Regions from separate parts of the Homo sapiens genome. Here region 1 is linked to region 2. The links are contacts of gene promoters, found by promoter capture Hi-C in human tissues and cell types (Jung and others, 2019). All regions are on one chromosome and are shown on one strand. The core of a region is centred on a gene start or on the middle of the fragment in contact, and the rest is flanking DNA. Distances in the headings are between cores, read along the strand shown.

Region 1 (3,793 bases), core at 158-2,657, 510 kb after region 2:
AAACCAAAATTAAAAACAGAAGCATCTGCAGATGCCATTTCTGTCTACTCAGCAAAACTAGAATTGCAAAACATTCTTTTTAGTAGAGTTAACTACCACAACAGATAAACTGTTTCCCAGCTAGTGGCTTTCATCAACCCCCAACTAAAAAATAAACCATTATCTAATGTGATGTGACAGTGTGAAATCTCATAATACATAATAACATTCGGCAGGAATGATGTAACAAATAGGGAGCTGGATGTGTGTGATACGTGATGGCTGGACTTCAACCAAATGTCAGATAAGCAAATAAAACGGTCTTTTCTCTTGTTCCAACCCTTGCCACTATACGATCACACACACATAAAGCACAGCACAGTAAGCCTGAGATTCCTGGACTTTACCCTCATTATAAATTGATGAAGGAGGCTAAGAAATCATCAGCTTGGAGGTTTGATTATGAAGTAAATTTAGGAGGAAAGCTCTCTAGGATGGATAAACTTGAAATTTACCTACCTTGCTCAAGCTCTCTAATTCCAATGAAAAAGAGTGGCATAGGCTTGCCAGACTTTCAGGGCCCTTCTAGATGCCAGACATATACTCACAACTACAATTGGTCAGAAACTACGGTGGCCCGTGAACACTGAGCCCATTTAGTTAACTGAGGCGCAAAGCTTTAGGAAATCTATGCAAGACAATGGGTTATAGTGGAGAGATCACTATATTGGGAGCCAAAAGGTTTCATGCCCAATATAGTTATATTCCAAATAGCTCAAACCTCTATATTTTTTCCAAATTATATTCAGTTTTCTACATTTTTCTCATTTTCTCCTCTAGTAGCCAGCAGTTTTGAACTACCTATGACTTTTTGTCTATCTTACCTCTGCCTCAAGTTTGTGTTATTTACCCATCTAAAAGTATGATTTAAAAAAAAAAATCTGTCATCCCTGAATAGGTGAAAATTGATAAAATGAAATTGAGTTTGGAATTCAACTGCACCTGAAAGATCATCTAAACTGTAAGACTTTCATTTCAAGGTCATTAAAGCAGAGAAATACCTCTCCAAAATCACATAGTTCATGGCAAAATAGCACTTAAAATCCATATTTTATGACTTCCAGTTTAATTTATTTTTTCCAATACTTTTGTTTTTCAAAAAAACTAGGATAAGCAGAAAAAGCTTATAAACCAGAAAGAGTTCTATAAAAAACGAATTAACATAAAAAAAGGAAGAACACTAGAGCAAGAACAACCCGAAACCAGGTGTGTTTTCAAATAAATAAGTCTTCTCTGTCCCTAAATCATGCTTTTCACATTTTTGGAGGGGTAGAGGGAAGCTTTCTTATATTTAGCATTGTTCAAAGGAATTTACGGGGCTTTCTTTTGTGGAAATTTTAAAAGTTAAAGAAGTAAAATGTTTGTGCACTGGTACAAATCTGCTTGATAATTAAACTGGATGATTCACTTTGACCTTAAGATTCAAAATTTGTGACTATCTAAATGTAAATTATCTCAGAATTTTTAAACAAAACTTACAGATTTCAAATGAATTGTCTGCAAGAAGGGTCCTTAACCTAGAGGTCATGTATACGTTTTCTATGAACTTATGACCATAGTATGTAATTCATTTATTTTGATGTATACATACAACTGTATATTTTTTCTAAGTCTACAGCTGGCATTGGTTTTCAAAGGTAATGACTCAAAATAATAATCATTACTTTCTATGTATAGACAAACTGAAAGAATCCCAAATTATGAAAAGACAAAAACTGCATGCATATTAATATTAGCAAAAGAACCTCTATTTTTGAAGTATTCACCTGGTGTTCCTACAATGCTATATTTGATCTACATGTTACACTTTAGGACCATTCTCCTACTCTAAATATAGATGACACAACTTATCTCTAGTAGCATTTTCCTTTGAATAGTTAAATCTAATTAGAAAAAAAGTAACTTTTTATTCAGAAAATGTATAATTTTATTTAAATTAACAAGTATTTGTACTTGCTACAATGTAAATTTCCTTAATTCTCCTATACTATTAAAATTCTGCACGAACATCTTAAAAACTCACATTTGCAAATGTTCCATACAGTTCAAAAAACTTCAAATGTGTGAAAACAGCATTTGCCAATTCAAATTTATACTGTTCTATTAAACTCTGATACTTGGAGATATCTCCACATTTTTTAATCTTTCATTTTCCTTTTCTTTAGATTTAGAAGAGAATTAAATAGAAATATTCCAAAAGAGTCAGAGGAGCATATCTCATCTGAATGTTTTAAATTGACTCTATATTTCAAATTTATTTTAAGATTAACACCACAGCATGTTATTTAATCTCTTGTGTTTTTGTAACAATCGCTTACTGTAGAATAACTATTTTAATTTCAATCAAAAAACAGGAGTTAAATCAGTAGTCAACGCCAGTGTGATTTTATCAGTTTTCTTACTAAACTATATTCAGAATGATTAGATACTTTAATATTTGCAAGCAAACTCTATAAAACTCTGTGGAAACATGAGGATTTTATTATCACTTCAAAAAGACTGTCTACAACTTTGGAAGAACAAGACAGATGGAAAAACTGCTTGAGCCCATGAGTTCAAGACCAGCCTGGGCAACACAGAGAGATCGCTTTCTCTACCAAAAAAAAAAAAAGAAAAAGAAAAAGAAAATCAGCAGGTTACTATGGCATACGCCTGTAGTCCCAGCTACTTGGGAGGTTGAAGCAGGAGGATGGCTTGAGCCCCGGGAGGTAAAGGCTGCAGGCTGCTTCAAGTCATGATCTCGTGACTGCACTGCAGCCTGGGTGACAGTAAAACTTTGTCTCAAAAAAAAAAGGAAAAAGAAAAAAGTGTCATCAGCTTGTTGCAATGAGATGTTTTGCCTTCTATGATTCCAAGCCACTCTCCTGTCAACTAAAGCTACCTTTAAAAACTCAATCACTTAACTCTTCAGATCCCCAAAGATTTACTTTTCTATTCTCCCTCTCCCCTTGCATTTACCTCAATGCTTTATGATTATGTACCCATCTGTAGAACTTAAAGCAATACATAATTTTATTTGAACCTTAAAAACCAACCTCTAAATAAAAGCCAGTAATACTGCTTCCATTTTACTGCTAAGAAAACCAAGTTAAAGGACTTACCCATATTTACAGGATTAATAAGTAACAGTCTGAATTTAAACCCACCCGCTTACAGTGTCTCCAATATAACTTCAACTCTCAACTTTCTCCTTCCCCAAATATACTTCTGTATCAACACACCTATACTCATTTTTATTCTTATGATGTTACTACCTTCCAGAGATTATAAAACTGAATATCAAGGTTTGGATGCACAGAGTTTGTGGTGAAAAACATGAAAATAAGATAAAAAATAGTTGACTGTGCTAGCTGTAAACATTAGCACGTCAAAGTCTTTATGCAGATGATTGAAAAAGTTAAAAGAAAATGTTTTTAAAATATTGTAAAGCTATAATATTTTTAAAAATTAAAACAGCCCACACTACTCAGGAGTTATGTTTGGTCAGTGTAGGAGAGATCCAATTATCAAAAAGCAAATACTGGGACTAAGATGACTGACCTCTTGATGGCTTCTCAGGGCCTGTGTCCATTAGTACTGATAAATAAACCACCAATGAGTGTTCTTATGTAGCTATAAAGTTACTTTGAAAATAAAAATAAATCACTACTTTAGGCCTGGCGCAGTGGCTCACGCCTGTAATCCCAGCACTGTGGGGGACTGAGGCAGGCACATCACAAGGTCAAGAGATGGAGACTATCCCAGACAACATGGC
Region 2 (3,997 bases), core at 389-2,888:
ACTTTGTAGTTTAGCCAAACTCTTCTAGCAGCAAAACCCATGACACTGGAACTCTGTTCTTCACACTGGTCATTTGTAATAGAATAACAGAGCTTTAGCACTAGATAGGTTCTGAAAGATCATTGAATCTAATCCTCTCCCTTTGCCAGTGAGAATTCTGAAGCCCAGATTTGTTGATTTGTGATCGATAGTGTCAAAGACAGGCCTGAAACACAGATGTCCTGGGTCCTAGAGGTGCTGTTTGCCCCTCTCCATATTTCTTTTGTTCCAGAAAACCCTTCTCCAAAACTGGCCCTAATAATCAGAGGGGAAAGCCATGGCCCCTGCCTTGGGGACAGCATGGGTTGGCACAGAAAAGAGGTTTACAATTCAGCAGGAAGTGTTGTGCGTGCGCGCGTGTGTGTCTGTGGAGGCGCAGGGAGGGTCACCTGAGCTTGCCCTGGGTCTGGTCCTGGGCTCAGTGGCAAATTCAACGCTGGGCAGGTGGCCTGAGGACAATGACGGTGCCAGCTGTGAGTCAGACTTCCTTTATTCATAAAATCATGTTCCTCCATGCAGTGCTTCTCAACCTGGCTGCACGTCAGGAGCCACCTGGGTAGCTTTGTAAAAACCCCAATGCCCAGTTGGTTTGCACCCCCTGAGATTCTGATTAAACTGTTCTGGAGTCCATCTCTCTCTTTTTATTATCTATCTATTTATTTATTTTTTAATTTGGCGGCTCCTCTGGGACTTCTCATATGCAGTAGGGGTTGAGAATTGCTGGTTTCTTTGGCCAGATGGGAACATGCAGGCCAATAGTTACGCACAAACAGAGCAGCAGAGCAGGACGGTGCTAAGGTTGGAAAGGGTGAGTCATGAAAGTTCAGGAAATCAGAATAGGAAGGGGTGAGAATCCTCTCATCTGGGCTTGTGGGGCAGGAGAGAAGAGCCCAGTGGGCAAGGTCCAGTGAGTGTGCTTAGAACTGGGAAGATGAGGGGAAGGGTAAGCGCTGGGCGGCGGTGGGCAAGATGGACGAGATTAAACGGGAGCGAGGATTTCAGCGAGAGCTTTGGCGACACGGAAGGCTGAGAATCGGAGGGAGCCTGTCGGGCGAAAGCGAAGGCGGCTGCTGGGCAGGCAGCCGAATCCGGCTGGAGAGCCGAGCTGGTGAGACCTACAGGAAGTGAAGGGAGTCGCTCAGGGCGTGGCGCAACGAGACTCTTAGAAGAAACTCTGAGGCAGAGATGGGGGGCCTCCGCCCATACGGAGACACAAGGAAGTCCACATGCACACGCACGAGCGCGCACATGAACACGCACAAGCACACAAACGCCTCCTCCGGGCAGGGCACACGCGCCCGCTGCACAGGCCGAGGCCCTGGACTCGGAGGGGACTGCAGAGCCGACCCACAACCCGGGCCCCGATGCCCCTCCCGGCCGCGCCCCTACGACTGCTTGCGCAACAGGCGGCGGCTCCAGTGGGCGCCCGCCGCGCGCTGCCGGAGCCCAGCCCAGCCCGGCGCGCCCGGGAGGAGGGAGCAGGGAGCGGGGAAGGGGTGTGTCCCGGCTGCGTGCTGGGACTGCGAGGGTCTGGGAGGGGCGAGGCGCGGGGGCGGGGCCGCGGCGCCTATAAAGTCGCCCTCCGCCCGGACGTAAACAAACCTCGCCTGGCTCCCAGCTGGTGCTGAAGCTCGTCAGTTCACCATCCGCCCTCGGCTTCCGCGGGGCGCTGGGCCGCCAGCCTCGGCACCGTCCTTTCCTTTCTCCCTCGCGTTAGGTAAGCCCGCGCCCTCTTCTCCCAGGCGCGACGCGGAGCAGAAAGGGGCCGCCCGTGCGGTGCCGCTGGAGCGCCAGGACCGCCCTTTGTAGCCCCGCGTACTCCAGGAGTAAGCGCCCCGGAGCTGCAAGTGCGCGGTCACCCCGGGGCGCGGGCGCGAGGGGGCTTTGGGTGCAGACACCGCTGAAGTGGGGGGTTCAATTACGGAAAGGGAGGAAAAAAAGACAGGGTCCCATTCATCTCCCCCCTAGCTGGGGATTGGGGTTCTGGAGGTCGGGAAGGGGGCGATGAGACGGTCCGAAAAAATACCAGGATAGCGTTTCCTGGCGTCGTCTCCGAATCCCAGCTGGCGCCGCTGGCAGGGGTGCGCGCTGGACGTGGGTGCAGAAGGGACTAGGTGAGTGTGTGTGTGTGTGTGTGTGTGTGTGTGTGTGTGTGTCTGTGTCTGGGAACGGAGAGATTGCGCGCGAGTGTGTAGATGAGGGGTTGGTAGAGGTGAGTGGCGCTGGCAAGGAGGCTGGAGAGGGGGGCGTGGGTGTGTCTGGCTTGCAGACTGGGTCGGGAACGGGTGTGGATCCGAGAGGCTGGTGGCGCTTCAGTCCCGTAGCACACACAGGGCGGTGTGCATGTGTGAGTGTAAGCGTGTGTGTGGGGGGAGGGTCCAGGGTGTGTCACAGTGCAACACGCGAGCCGGAGCAAGTGTCTGCGAGCGCCACTGGGCAGGGTGCGCCCCCGGAGGAACCCGGGATTGGCGCATCGGCGGCGTGGGAGAAGTGACCTGGGCGAGAGGGGTCTCGCGGACATTTGGCGGCCCCTTGAGCTGGCTGGAGCTAGGAGTGGCGTCATTTTCGCCTCCGCCCACCCTCCCCCGCTTTCCTCCCCTCCCCTGCCTCTGGTGCTGGCCGCTCCTGCCCTCCACGGGGGAAAACAGCTGGAATTACTTCGACGTTCCTGGGGGATCCGCCGCGGTCTCTGATTCAGCCTCGGGAGGAGATTTCGGGCTGGGCTTGGGGAATGCGGCTGGTTCTGGGGGAAACACGCTGTCACGCCTCTGTCAAATTAGTAGCTGGAGCTGGGATTTAGTGGGTCGGTTCCTTACCCACCCCTCCCCCATATCCCCCGCCTGTTGTCCCTGCTGTCCCTGGGGGTCCTGAACAGCACGCCTCTGTGGCTTGGAAGTGGGAGATGCCTGGCAGTGGGTGGGGGAGGCAGGGCCCTTGGTTATCTTATGCCCATCCAAGAACACCCCTTCCTCACGGACGCTGGGGGCACTTCAGTTTGTTTGGTTTCTTTAAGCTACTGGGAAATATCTAATATTCAGAAGTCAGCCAGTGGCCAGGCAGGAGGGCGGTAGACATCCTTATAATACCCATCAGCTGCACGGGACCTTCTCCTAAGCTGCCTCAAAAGAACATATCTAAATACAAACCCCCTGTTCTTGCTGCAGAAATGTAGTTTCAAGGCGAATTTTTCAGTCTAGACTCTTCCTGTTGAGAAATTCTGGCGTTCTTATTGAGTTTCACAAATGTGATTGAAATAAGCAAGGTACAGAGGGGGCAAACCCCAGCGCCTTTCTTGGAAGGGCTGCCTTCTGGTGGGGAAGACACACGGCTGGAGACGCAGACCGGTTCTGTGTGGTGTGTGTGGCGGCAGAGCCAGCCCCAGGCTGGGGTGGCACAGTGTCGGGGATGAAGGAAGGTGTAAGGGAGAGAGAGGGTTTTGGTGTGGATGGAAAACTGGGTGTTCCCCTGACCTGTGACTTCTTAGCTTTGTGGGACCGTGTCTCCCACTGCATCTGGGCAAGGAGGAGGATTTGCCTGCCCTGCCCTGTAACCTGGCCCCTGGCCCAGCGCCTGGCAGGTGGGAGGAGTTGAAATATGCACATGGGATGAAGTGGATGGCTCTGGGTCTTCTGCCCCATTCTCCTGTGAACCAGCAGGTTGAGTTTCGGGCGAGGTAATAGACTGTGCATGGGTGGAGGTGTTGGCTTTTGCTTTTGAGGGATCCTGGAGTGTCTGTTTGGGTCTCTTGTGAGGAAGTTCTTTTGGAGCAACAAAGTTTGATCATTTGGAATGGAATAAAAAACTCACACAGGACCTACCTAGTCCAACTTCTTTCCATTTTACAGATGGAAAATGAGGCACAGGGATGGGGAGGGATGTGCCCAGGCCGAACTGAGCTGGAGCTCAGCTTTGTGAGAGGCTCCTGGGTGGGACTGAAGGCAGTGGAAAGGGTTCCTGG

The links. The method cuts DNA at HindIII sites, captures the fragments that hold promoters and counts their contacts. A contact is called where the count stands out against the background at its distance.
Region 1: a fragment that was not itself captured here is called in contact with the fragment with the promoter of NDRG1 in region 2 in 3 of the 25 tissues and cell types used here (bladder, hippocampus and mesenchymal stem cells).

Annotation. Positions count from the first base shown.
Region 1 is chr8:132,781,630-132,785,422 of GRCh38, reverse strand. All of the region lies in intron 2 of PHF20L1 (PHD finger protein 20 like 1), which reads right to left. Among named protein-coding and RNA genes, the nearest start is that of PHF20L1, 8.1 kb to the right of the region's middle. The HindIII fragment of the contact is 4,511 bases long and covers 1-3,662 here.
Region 2 is chr8:133,294,893-133,298,889 of GRCh38, reverse strand. NDRG1 (N-myc downstream regulated 1) reads left to right here and starts at 1,638. Exons shown (of 16, transcript NM_006096.4): 1 at 1,638-1,756. RefSeq lists a silencer at 1,308-1,757 and an enhancer at 3,954-3,997. The HindIII fragment of the contact is 13,971 bases long and covers 1-3,997 here.